Regions from separate parts of the Homo sapiens genome. Here region 2 is linked to region 1. The links are contacts of gene promoters, found by promoter capture Hi-C in human tissues and cell types (Jung and others, 2019). All regions are on one chromosome and are shown on one strand. The core of a region is centred on a gene start or on the middle of the fragment in contact, and the rest is flanking DNA. Distances in the headings are between cores, read along the strand shown.

What was found. The method cuts DNA at HindIII sites, captures the fragments that hold promoters and counts their contacts. A contact is called where the count stands out against the background at its distance.
Region 2: a fragment that was not itself captured here is called in contact with the fragment with the promoter of ST6GALNAC1 in region 1 in 2 of the 25 tissues and cell types used here (dorsolateral prefrontal cortex and thymus).

What each region holds. Positions count from the first base shown.
Region 1 is chr17:76,640,924-76,647,790 of GRCh38, reverse strand. ST6GALNAC1 (ST6 N-acetylgalactosaminide alpha-2,6-sialyltransferase 1) reads left to right here and starts at 4,034. Exons shown (of 9, transcript NM_018414.5): 1 at 4,034-4,283. The coding sequence starts at 4,153. The HindIII fragment of the contact is 5,915 bases long and covers 2,664-6,867 here.
Region 2 is chr17:76,424,739-76,431,382 of GRCh38, reverse strand. All of the region lies in intron 1 of UBE2O (ubiquitin conjugating enzyme E2 O), which reads left to right. It also overlaps the pseudogene RPL7P49. Among named protein-coding and RNA genes, the nearest start is that of UBE2O, 25 kb to the left of the region's middle. The HindIII fragment of the contact is 3,437 bases long and covers 844-4,280 here.

The DNA of each region.
Region 1 (6,867 bases), core at 2,785-5,284:
GCGCCAGTGCACTGCAGCCTGGTGAAAGAGCACGACTCTGTCTCAAAAAAAAAAAAAAAAAAAAAAAGGAGAAAAGAAAGAAACTCAGCAGAAACATCAGAAATTATACACTCTGCACACAAACCAGGAAATAGGCTTCATAGAATTAGTTCAGAATTAAATAAACAAATGCCCAAGGAAACAACAGTTCCACCAACAAGCCCCAGTGTAGTGGGGAATTCAGCATCTAGAGGTGCTACAATATATTATCTAAAATGTCTGGTTTTCAACAAAAAATTATGACACGCAAAAAAACTGTGACAAATACACAGGAAAAGAAGTCAGGCAATAAAAAGTGCTTTTGAAGGGACCTAAATATTGGACACATTGGAAAAAGACTCCAAAGCAGCTATTATGAATATGTTTTAAAAATCGAAGTAGACCAGGCATAGTGGTTCACGCCTATAATCTCAATGCTTCAGGAGTTCTAGGCAGGAGGATTGCTTAAGGCCAGGAGTTCAAGACCAGCCTGGGCAACACAGTGAAAACCTGTTTCTACAAAATATATATATATTTAAATAAATTAGCCTGTAGTCTTAACTACTAGGGAGGTTGGGGAGAAAGGATCACGTGAGGCCAGGAGTTCAAGGTTACAGTGACCTATCATCACGCCACTGCACTTCAGCCTGAGTGACAGAGCAAGACCTTGTCTCCAAAAAAAAAAGTTTTTAATGTAAACCATGTTTAAAGAATTGAAGATTAAAGAAAGGCATGATAATAATGACTCATGAAATAGAGAATGTTCACTAAAAAGATAGAACAAAATTATTAAGTAAATGAAAATTCTGAAGTTGAAAAATAAATAATCAAAATGAAAAATTCACTAGAGGGGCTCAATAGTAGATTTGAGTTGGCAGAAGGAAGAATCAGCCAACATGAAGACAGATTAATACAGATGAAGAACACTACGAAAAATAATAAGTAAAAATGAACAGAGCCTCAGAGAAATGTAGAATACTGTTAAGCACACCAACATACTCATCCTAGGAAAGAATGCTCAAGAGGCAGAGATAGAGAGAAAAAAATATTCAAACAAATAATACCTGAAAACTTCTGAAATTTGTTGAAAAACACTAATACATAGATCCCAGAAACTCCAAGTGAATAAATGCAGGAAGACCCACACAGACACATCATAGTCAAAATACTGAAAGCCAAAGATAGAGAAAAATCTTGAAAGAAGCAAATGAAAAACAATCTAAATTACTTTGTGCTCATGCACTTCTCTTTTGAACTGGTTATTATATCTGCCTGGTCCTCTCATGAGTAGAATCAAATCTTTAGCACATTTTTATGTCTTCTATCTATTTGAGTAATGATTTTACCTTTTACTGAAAATTATCTTTTAACAACTCTTATCTGCATGTAAGTTCTCACATGTCCCATCAGCTGATGTATACTAAAGTTCAAAGACTCAAGCTCAAAGCTTTAGTTTAAAAAGGAGAAAAAGTTTTTGCCATTGAGCTTAAGAGAATAAAATAAAATAAAACAATAAAAAGGAGAGAAAGGTAGATCTTACCAAACACAAAATTGTGACGATGTTTAAAAAATAATTGGCAGCTGGGCGTGGCGGCTCACATGAAGTGCTCCCAGCACTTTGGGAGGCTGAAGTGGGGTCGCTTGAGACCAGGAGATCAAGACCAGACTGCACGACATAGCAAGACCCCCCCATCTCTACAAAAAAAATTTGCCAGGTGTGGTGGCACCCACCTGTAATCCCAGCTACTTTGGAGGGAGGCTGCCGCAGGAGGATCTTGTGAGCTCAGGAATTCAAGGCTTCAGTGAACTATGATTGCACCACTGCACTCCAGCCTGGATGACAGAAAGAGGCCTTGTCTCAAAAAGCAAAAACAAAATAATTGGAAAGTCAATTTCTCCTAAAACACACACTTCTCTGGATCCCACATTCTGCCCAGGCACATGCTACAGCAGCAGTGGGCTGGAACCTGAGAACCAGGAAACTAGGACTCTGGATTATCCTGCCACACCAGTTGGCCACAAGGTCTTCAAGTTCAACCTGCCTCTAATGTGGCGAGAGGGACAGATTGTCCACAGTAGCTCAGCTTGCACCCAGGAGCTCAGCTGGATCTCCATGCCCTGCGGAAGGCAGCGAGCACTGACAGCCAGTGCCTTCTTCAGAACACAGGGCACGATGAAAGAGATACTCTATTTAGTCACACTAGTACTGTGGGTAAGAACATGCCTTTTCACTGTGCACTTATTTGCATAGCGTTGCAAGCAGGCACCAGGATACAGGAATATAATTGTACATGTCAAGTGCATAAAGGAACTCAGGATAAGGGGCCAGTTAGGACAAAGAGTTATGACTTGATACAGATCAATTCAGAAAATGTTTATAGAGTTAACATATGAGCATCTGTAGGTTAGGCACGGTGAGAGAGAAAGAGAGAGGTTGAGTCAGTACTAACAGAGATGTTTCTCCTTGCCACCATGACTTGAAACAGTGCTGTGAGTTGCAGTGTACAGTAGGGGATAAAGGAAACCATCAGTCGTCTGTATTACCCTCAGCTGCTCAGACGTATGTTCCTGCCTTTTTCGTCCTCCTTGAGGAAGGTGGTTTAATCATTTATCGGTGCGTGCCATGGGTGAAGGCCAAGAGCCTTGTGTACAGAACTGAAAACTGTACGTTAGGAGAAATGCCCACCGCCAGGTGTGAACAGTGAGCCCAGGCTCCAAAACCTCTCCCACAGTTCAACACCCTGGACAATATTTTTATAAAATTACTAACTCACAGTACTTTATGGAGGGCTGCTTCTCTGAATTTTTAAAGTTTTCTACAAATGGTCTTGATGTTTTTCCTCTGAGGTGTACTTTTTTTTCCCAAGAATTATGTGGGTTTTGTTTTGCATTGCTTTGATCAAGGTAGAGTTAATGATTTCTCGTAGGTGCTACTAAGCAGTGGATACGAATGCAATCGGCCAGGCACGGTGGCTCACACCTGTAATCCTAGCACTTTGGGAGGCCGAGGCAGGTGGATCATGAGGTCAGAAGATCGAGACCATCCTGGCCAGCATGGTGAAACCCCGTCTCCACTAAAAATACAAAAATTAGCCGGGTGTGGTGTTGGGTGCCTGTAGTCCCAGCTACTCAGGAGGCTGAGGCAGGAGAATCACTTGAGCCCGGGAGGCGGAGGTTGCAGTGAGCCAAGATTGCGCCACTGCACTCCAGGCTGGCAACGAGTGAGAATGTCTCAAAAAAAAAAAAGAAAGAAAAATGCAATCATGGCTGGGCATGGTGGCCGATGCCTGTAATCCCAGCACTTTGGGAGGCTGAGGTGGGAGGATCACTTAAGTCCAGGAGTTTGAGACCAGCCTGGGCAACATACTGAGACCCATCTCTATTTCTTAAAAAAAGAATGCAATCTCTAGGTCAGTTGGATCTGGACCCCAAGCCAGTGGCTCACCATGTGCTCTTGGGCTGGCAGCTTGTTCTTGGAGGCCATTTCCTCCTCTGTCAAATGGAGGTGATGACAGTACCCAGCCCCTAGAGTGGCTGTGAGGGTTCCATGAGTGCCTGTGAAGACTCCCCACTGCCCAGCTCAGAGTGAGCCCTCATACGTGCTGGTCATTGTTGTAATGGTCATGATTTCAGAAGAGAAACAGAGAAGGTTGAGCTAAAGTGTTGAACATGTGTGTTGGGTGCCTACCACAAACAAAGCCCTGTGCATGGTGGCCTCAAGGTGTCTTCATGATAATCCCAAAAGGAAGATAACTGCTTTTTTCCATTTATATGGCGGCAGATGGGTTAAGTAACCTGACCAAGATGAGACTGCATATAATGTGGTTATATTTCTCATAAAGCTTGACTTTCAGATATTGGCTTCAAAGACAAAAAAGGAAGGTAAACATGTTTGAACACAAGGAGTTTCCCTTCCTTTAAGCCACGCCAGCTTATAAGCCTTCATACAGCAGTGAAGGCGGTTCCTCCCTTCCCAGGCAGAGACTGATAAACTCAGCACTTGCCGGAGTGGCTCATTGTTAAGACAAAGGGTGTGCACTTCCTGGCCAGGAAACCTGAGCGGTGAGACTCCCAGCTGCCTACATCAAGGCCCCAGGACATGCAGAACCTTCCTCTAGAACCCGACCCACCACCATGAGGTCCTGCCTGTGGAGATGCAGGCACCTGAGCCAAGGCGTCCAGTGGTCCTTGCTTCTGGCTGTCCTGGTCTTCTTTCTCTTCGCCTTGCCCTCTTTTATTAAGGAGCCTCAAACAAAGCCTTCCAGGTAAGATTCTTGTCCTTTCCACTCCTCATATTTCATTCATTTGAGGAAACAGAAAAATGATAGCCCAGGGAGGACTGGGGAAGTCTGAGCCACCTGTGTGTCCACATGGGAGTGTCAGGGGTCAGGAGTGTTCTCAAGAAGCACTGGGAAGAAAGACTAATGGGAAGACTTGCAGGGAACAGAAAGGGTGGCAGTGGGCAACCAAGACGCATGGGATGGACATGTCCAGATACTGTGGGACACGTACAGGAGTTTGAGAACTGATGGGTTAGGTCTGCAGAGTGCAGACAGAAGACATGACTGCTTTCCCCTCTGGGACTGTGAGTAATGGCAGCAGCACTGGGTTAGTTCTTACATGCCATTCTCTACGTCCTGAAGCGAAAGAGCCATGCTGTGTGTTCCACTTGTTTCAGACCCGGACTCACCCTAAGTTTGTCAGTTAAAATGGAGAGCCTCCCTCTTAGGGATGCAGTTTCAATTGTGGACGCCAAGTTAATCCTTCAAAAATACCTTCTAGACCATTTTTCTTAGAAAATACACACATCTCCAGCAGTGAGAGGCCCTCTTTTTTTTTTTTTTTTTTTTGAGACGGAGTCTCACTCTGCTGCCGGAGTGCTGGAGTGCAGTGGCATGATCTCAGCTCACTGCAACCTCCACCTCCCAGGTTCAAGCCTCAGCTTCCTGAGTAGCTGGGACTACAGGCGCATGCCACCAGGCCTGGCTAAGTTTTTGTATTTTTAGTAGAGACAGGTTTTCACCATGTTGGCCAGGCTGGTCTTGAACTCCCGACCTCAAGTGATCTACCCACCTCGGCCTCCCAAAGCGCTGGGATGACAGGCGTGAGCCACTGCGCCCAGCCAATAATTTCATTTCACTGTTCCTAAACGTTGAAAGTAATGCAGGTTCTCATAGAGTTAAAAAAAATACAGAAAGGTGAAGCAGGAAGTGAGGGTCTCCCTATTATACCTCCACCTCTATCCACTCTTCAAGGTGACCACTCTTGACACTTGAGGGTACACGGAATTCTATTATTATGTAGCTAACACTGCTATAGTATTTACTATGAGCTAGCCCCTATTCTAAGTGCTTGATATACGTTAACTCACTAATTCTCATTATTAGGACACTGAGATACACAGAACTGAAGTGATTCTCCCAAGGTCACCCTGCTAGTATGCGGCAGGGCCAAGATTCAAACCCAGGCATTTTGGTGCCATACCCTGTGCTCATTACCTTTATGCTATACAAGCCCGATAGATAGATGATAGATAGATAGATAGATAGATAGGCAGATAGAGAGAGAGAGAGATAGAGAGATAGGCAGATAGATGGACAGATAGATGGATAGATAGATGGAGATATAGATATCTATATATAGTATGGAGATATATATACAATATATACGCTATATATTGATATACTATATGTCAATATGTAGCATGAGAGATATGTATATATAGATATATTGTATATATAGATATAGATATATACACATATATATCATATAGATTTACATATATATGCACAAGAGAGCTTATATATATATCTCATATATACGTATATATACATATATATGTATCTCATGCTACATATTGTTCCACAGGTTGACCTTGTAAGTCACACTATATCATGGACATCTTTCCATGTCGGGACATACAGGTCCACTCCCTTCTTTCAACAGTTGCTTAGCATTCCACAGGGTAGGTACTGTTTACTTAACCAACCCCTATCAAGTTTCTCACATACCTTTGAGCACTTGCGTAAGTGATTTCCGGGTAGATTTCTTGAAGTGGAATTGCCAAGACAATGCATATGTTTACATGAAATGTCAGTGGACACCATTGAATTGTTGTCTCAGAATGCTACACTGACAGGTGCAAGTTTACTTTACCTCCCAGGACCACACTGGCTTTCATTAGGGTTTTGAAGTCTTAATCATCAGATAGGTGAAAGTGTTTCTCTTTTTAATTTGCATTTCTCAGATCACTGATGTATTGAGAATCTTAACTTTCTTAGTCATTTGTACTTTTCTATGAATGACCTGTTCATATCTTTTCTTCCTTTTTATTATTTTTTTCATATTTGTAGGAGCTTTTTGTATATTAGGGATATTAACCTTTTTATCATATATGTTACAATACTTCTAAATGCAGTGGGATAATTTAGGAATCAGAGAGACTGAAGGGTTGAGGAGGATTTATTATCATTATTAAGGTGCACTGGCCCAGTCACATTAACATCCAAAAAAACTGAGCCCCGAACAAAGCGTCAGGTTACCTTTTAAGCATTTCGTGGGGCAGGGGGAGATCTGTGCAGGGGGAAGCATATTACAGAAGCAAGAAACAAAGACAGTTACTCAATTGAGACATGCATTACATCATTTCTTACTTTTCAAGGAAAAATATGTTTTACGACTTGAGTTTATCTGCCTAGTGACCTTGCAGCTACACAGCTGCAGAGACAAGGTCTTCACAATGCCTGGGAAAGGGAGAGATAAGGCTCACTGGCCACAGACAGAAAAACAGGCAATTAATTTTTAAAGGATTCCACCTCTTTTTGTTTCTTAGAGGGAATTGGGTTTTTT
Region 2 (6,644 bases), core at 1,313-3,812, 210 kb after region 1:
CAGCACGCCCAGCTAATTTTTTTTTGTATCTTTAGTAGAGGCGGGATTTCACCATGTTGGCCAGGCTGCTCTTGAGCTCCTGACTGCAAGTGATCTACCCACCTCAGCCTCCCAAAGTGCTGGGATTACAGGCATGAGCCACCGTGGCCGGCTTTTGTTGACTTATTACTTCTCCTTCATCTTCAGATCTAGTTGTATATAAGTACTTTGCAAAACAAAGATTAAAAACCTCCGGTTGCCTCTTTTTTGGCTGGAACCATGGAGGGTGTCGAAGAGAAGCAGCAGCTTCCTGTTGTGCCAGAAACCCTTGGGAAAAAGCAAAGGAATTTCACAGAACTAAAGATCAAGCACCTGAATAAGAAGTTTGCCCAAAAGATGCTTCAAAAGGCAGGGAGGAAACTTATGCACGAAGAAGTGAAGCACTACCACAAGGAATCTAGGCAGATGTACAGAACTGAAATTTGAAAGGCTAGGATGGCAAGAAAAGCTGGCAACTTTTTTGTGCCTGCAGAACCCGAATTGGCATTTGTCATCAGGGTCAGAGGTATCAGTGGTGTGAGCCCAAAGGGCCAAAAGATGTTGCAGCTTCTTTGCCTTTGTCAGATCTTTAATGGAACCTTTGTGAAGTTCAGCAGACCTTCAGTTAACATGCTGAGGATTGTGAAACCATGTATTACAAGGGGAACCCAAATCTGAAATCAGTAAATAAACTCATCTACAAGCATGGCCGTGGCAAAATCAATAAGAAGCGAATTGCTTTGACAGATAACACTTTGATTGATCAGTCTCATGGTCAATATGGCATCATCTGCATCGAGGATCTGATTCATGAGCTCTATACTGTGGCCCTTCAAGTTATCCTCTCCACAAAGTGGAATGAAGAAAAAGACCACCCATTTTGTAGAAAATGGAGCTGCTGCCAACAGGGAGGGCCAGATCCACAGGCTTCTTAGAAGAATGAACTGCGGTGTCTACCGTGATTATTTTTCTAATCTGGTCAGTTAATAAATAGTACCTGCTCTCAAATTGAAAAAAAAAATCTTCGGTTAGCATACTTTAGGTAAACATGGTAGATTGAACATATTCATTTAAATCTACTTCCCCTAGAAACTCTGCTAAAATAACAGCAAAATAATTGTTTTTAGATGTATAAACCCACAAGGACACAGAATGGGAGAGAAAACAATAACAAAAGATCTCCAATTTCTAGAAGGTGGAAGGCAAACAGAAGACTGAGCAGAGCAGAGGCTGAAATGTTGGTACCTGCGGAAAAACACCAAGGAAAAGCACTTTAGAAAGCATCAGGAATTGGAGGCAATTGGTGGCACTCAAGGTGGGAATAAGGTTTGGGCCTAAAAGCAGAGGGATTATGATTAGTTGACAGTCTGTATAGGGAGGGATGAAACTTCCCAAGTCATCTCTTTGAATTCTGCAAACCAGAAAATACTCAATCCCCTTTGCTGGCGAGTGAGAGAGCAGAGGCTTATGCACCAGATTGAGGTACCTTGGGCAGAGCAAGGGGCAGGGTAACGCTGGACTGAAAGAGGGATTCATGAACGTCTGCACACTAAAAGAGCAAATCCCAGCCATGCCCCTGCCTGCTCCTGGAGTGCTGAGGCCAGGCATGAGGCATGGCATTGGATTCCAGTCTGGAAAAAATGAGCATGTCAGCAACAAGACCTGCCATTGCCAGTATGTAGTGGCTCCTCACAGCAGTGGCCAGCTTTCTACTCCATCTAATGTGGTCCTCACCTGTCCAGAGCCTTGCTTATGTTCACAGGGTTTCTATCATCTTTTTATCACCTCAACTTTTTTAACTTTTTTTTTTTTTTTTTTTTTTTGAGACAGAGTCTCACTCTGTCACCCAGGCTGGAGTACAGTGGTGTAATCTTGGCTCACTGCAACCTCTGCCTCCCAGGCTGAAGCACTTCTCCCACCTCAGCCTCCCAAGTAGCTGGGATTACAGCCATGCGCCACCACTCCTGGCTAATTTGTGTGTTTTTTGTCAAGATGGGGTTTTGCCATGTTGCCTAGGCAGGTTTCAAACTCCTGAGCTCAAGTGATCTGCCCACCTCAGCCTCACAAAGTGCTGGGATCACAGGCATGAGCCACCATCCCCAGCCCAACTTTTTATTTTGAAATAATTATAGATGCATAGGAAGTTGCAAACATAGTAGAGGGCTGGCTGGACGCGGTGGCTCATGCCTGTAATCCCAGCACTTTGGGAGGCCGAGGCGGGCAGATCACGAGGTCAGGAGTTCGAGACCAGCCTGGCCAACATGGTTAAACCCCGTCTCTACTAAAAATACAAAAATTAGCCGGGCATGGTGGCATGCGCCCGTAATCCCAGCTACTCGGGAGGCTGAGGCAGGAGAATTGCTTGAACCCAGGAGGCAGAGGTTGCAGTGAACCAAGATCATGCCACTGCACTCCAGCCTGGGCGACAGAGCAAGACTCCATCTCAAAAAAAAAAAAAAAAATAGTAGAGGGGTCCCCTCTACCCTTCATGCAGTTTCCCTTGATGGTCATGTCTTATATAATCACAGACAATATGAAAATCAGGGAATTGACATGGGTACACAATATGTGCATACAGTTTCACACCCTTTATCACATCTGTGGATTCATGTAACCACATGTAACAGCAGTCAAGATACACAACTCTTCCATCACCACAAAGATCTCTTATTGCCTCACTTTTAAATAGGAATGGATGCCAAGAATAACTGGATATGTTCAGAAAGCTTCCAGTATGGAAGGTAGAGGCCAGAGAAAGCAAAGAGAAAAATGTATCTCCGAGGAATCAGAGCTGATTCAGGTAGGAGAAAGCCTTAAAGCACATGGCAAATATACTCAGAAAGAAGAGCCAATATTTTATCCATGAAATAAAAAGTTACTATAAAAATCAGAACAAGAAAGAGTTCTCGGAAATTAAAACCATTACTTTTTCTTTGAAGTTGACGAAGGCTCCCAGGAAACAGATTAAAAACGTCTGACATCTAGGAAGTCTATAAAGAGAGAAAGGGAAAATTAAGGACCATAATGTATCAGAGAAACAAGAATTATTTCAGAATGGACAGTCATAAGTTTCAAAAATGGTAAATGGAAAATGTCCTGTGGCACATTGTGTGATTCCAGAGCACTGGGCATAAAGCTTCCGAAGAGCAAAAACGGGTCACATACAAAAGACTGGGAATGAAGATGGATTGGATTTTTCAACCTCATTGGAAGCCAGAAGACAATGGGGTGGATTTCCTGTTTCAGTGACATGGTAGCTTGAGCTAAAGTTAGAACCGCTCCCATTACAATCACTTAAAATGCTATATAAGCTATAACAACAGAATAAGAAAGAAAAACAGAGAACCGAAAGCAAAGCAGGAATATAAAGCCAGAGCAGAGTAGGCAGCTCTGGGGAGGGGCAAGGTGGGTTCATTGGACCCTGAAATCGACCCTAACAATAATAGAGGTTTGGATTTGCATGAACACGTGAAGCATGGAGTTGAAACAGAAATCCCCTCAAAAGAGCCATTCCCAGGTAAAAGGGATGCAAGAAAATTTCCCCCATGGGATCAGAGAAATGTCAAGGGAGCTGATCATTGCCCCACACTCTGGATTGTGTTGGAGGAAGTCTTCTGTGAACAGTGGAAAACATCCAAGTTCTAAGTCTGTGTTTATAACATCTACATGTTGCAGGAATGCCCGAGCTGGCACCAGACCAGCCAGCAGACTGGCGATACCCCTGAAGCTTCTTGCTTGCAGAACAAAGGCAGAACTTTTCTAGAGTGACCCTTGCACAGTACAGGCCTTTTGGAATCCTAGGATGCCCACAGATGATGAGCTTGTTCTAGGAAATTACCAAGCATGTAGAAATTAGAACATGAGTCAGCGATCACAACAAACACAAGATTCTCAACATGAGAATTCAAATAATAGAAGAGATTATAATAGAAATGTCTAAAGTGATTGAAGGGCTAAAAGAAGAAATAGATGTCAAAGGAAAGAATAAGACAGAATACATCTTAAAAGGGATTATTTTTTAAAGAATCAAATAAAGCCTCTAGAGTGAAAACATTGAGTTAAAACCCCAGTGGAAATGTTAAACAGCAAATAGCATAAATTCTCAAGAGAGAACTATGGGAACTGGAAAACAGATCTGCAGAAGTTAGTTAGAATTCTGCAGAGATAAAAGAGATGCTTGTGAGGAAGAGACATTACAAACATGGATGGTGGTATGAGGGCCCAGTGGGAAAAATAGCATCCTAAAGGCAGCTTGAGAAGAAAGGCAGATTACTCCCCAGGTTCAACAGTGAAACTCAGGAAATGCCAAGTAGCAACAGTAGAGGCCATAAGGAAGTAAAATCTTCAGTGTGCTAAGGAAAATCAGTTGTTGGCTTAGTTTTCAGCAACCAGCTTAAATTATCGTTCAATAATGGGAACAAATAAGGACATTTTCACAGAAAAAAAAAAAAGTTGTATTTACTAAGAGACCTTCGCTGTACTTCGGGAAGAAGGAAGTAAGGAGAAAGGAGAAATGCGGACAGTAATGGTATCCAGAGGCGTTGGGAAGTGCAGGTAAATCTGAATAAGCATTCGCTTCTGAAAGTGATCGTCACTAATTTGGAGAGGATTAAAAACCAAAGTCCCAACAAAAAATGGAAATCAGTGAGGGGGTGATTTGAATGAACACACTCTTAAGTTCTTTGAACTGTTTGGGAAGTGTAGGAGGGATATTGATTGACTTCAAACTTTCTGAGTCAAGTAGACATGTTCCAATTTTAAGGGTAACCACCAAAAGAATAGAAATAGTGTTTAAAGCTTTCAAACTCACAGAGGGTAAAAATATGGAATTTTAAAACTAGGTCATTTGTCTAAAAGAAAGAGAGCAAAGAAAAAATATGGTAGCCAGAAAGCCCTAAAGGTAGTAGAAATAAATCCACATGGATCACAATGAAAGTAAACAATTATATGTGCCAGTTAAGACAGGTACTCAGACTGGAAGACAGCAGAGCAAATCCTGCAACATTCTGAGAGAATTCCGTATCCAGCCCAACTACGTCAAGTAGAGTAGAAAAAAGTTCTTTTGGCTGGGCATGGTGGTTCACGCCTGTAATCCCAGCACTTTGGGAAGCCAAGACAGGAGGATCGCTTGAGCCCCGTTCGAGACCAGCCTGGGAAACATGGCAAAACCCTGTCTCTACAAAAAAATACAAAAATTAGCCAAGTGTGGTGTTGTGCATCTGTAGTCCCAGCTACTCAGGAGGCTGAAGTAAGAGGATCATTTGAGCCCAGGAGGTTGAGGCTGCAGTGAACCATGATCACACCACTACACTCCAGCCTAGGTGACAGAGTGAGACCCTCCTTTTAGGCATGTAAGGGCTGGAAAAAAAGTGCCTCCTGTGAACCTCTTGTGGGGAGGAGATAGAAGGAGTTGTTCTTCACCAAAACCAGGGACTTTTCCCAGGATCCAGGAAACGGGATCTGACACAGGTGAGCGGCAGAGGAAAGTCTGAGTTAGAGAGACAGGATGGAATTCTGCAGGAGGGAGAGAGATCGACAAGAAAAAGACACAAAGCCCAAAGATACCTGATCGATAATTTGTAGGTAATTTGAAGATATTTAGAAAAGTTATGGATAGGTATTTGACAAAAGTATCAATATGTACATAGTTGTGTGAGGACACGGAACACCACTTGGTTCAGCTGTGAGCTCTGTCCTCCATCATAACACATTTAGATTTTTCAATTAATGCAGTGGAACTGTTGAAAGGATGGAGTACAGGCAAAGGGCTTCAGAGGGGAGGGTAAGAGTTAGGTCATCAGGTACCAAAACAGGACGTCAATAGATAATGTCTATAATAAGTTAGGAATTAGGGTGCAAGCATGTTGTTTATATGTATGGAGGTAAATATTCAAACAGCTAAAAAATTAAAAAGTATTTGCTTCAAAAGAGCACAGTTGAGAGGGTAAGATGGGGGACTGCCTGTTTTTGTTAAGCCTTTTAGTACTATGTTTTTTTTTTAACTTAGGCATGCATTGTTTTGATACAATTAAGCTAAACTATTATTTAAAAAAATACAATATGAGCCAAGTAGGTCCTTTAAAATTTTTTAGTGACCACATTTTTTTCTTTTACTTTTTTTTTTTTTTTTTTTTTTTTTGTCGAAAGGACCTTGAGAAGTGACCACATTTTAAAAACATTAAAAGAAACAGGTGAACCGGGTGCGGTGGCTCACGCCTGTAATCCCAGCACTTCAGGAGGCCCAGACGGGTGGATCACGAGGTCAGGAGATCGAGACCATCCTGGCTAACATGGTCAAATCCCGTCTCTACTAAAAATACAAAAAAGTTAGCTGGGCGTGGTGGCGGGTGCCTGTAGTCCCAGCTACTCGGGAGGCTGAGGCAGGAGAATGGCATGAACCTGGGAGGCGGAGCTTGCAGTGAGCTGAGATCGCGCCACTGCACTCCAGCCTGGGTGACAGGGTGAGGGCGAGACTCTGTCTCAAAAAAAAAAAATAAAAAATAAAAAAAAAAAAAGAAACAGGTGAAATTAATTTTGGAGGTAGAGGTGGATGGAGTCTTGCTCTGTTGCCCGGGCTGGAGTGCAGTGGCTCGATCATAGCTCATTGTAACCTCAAACACCTGGCT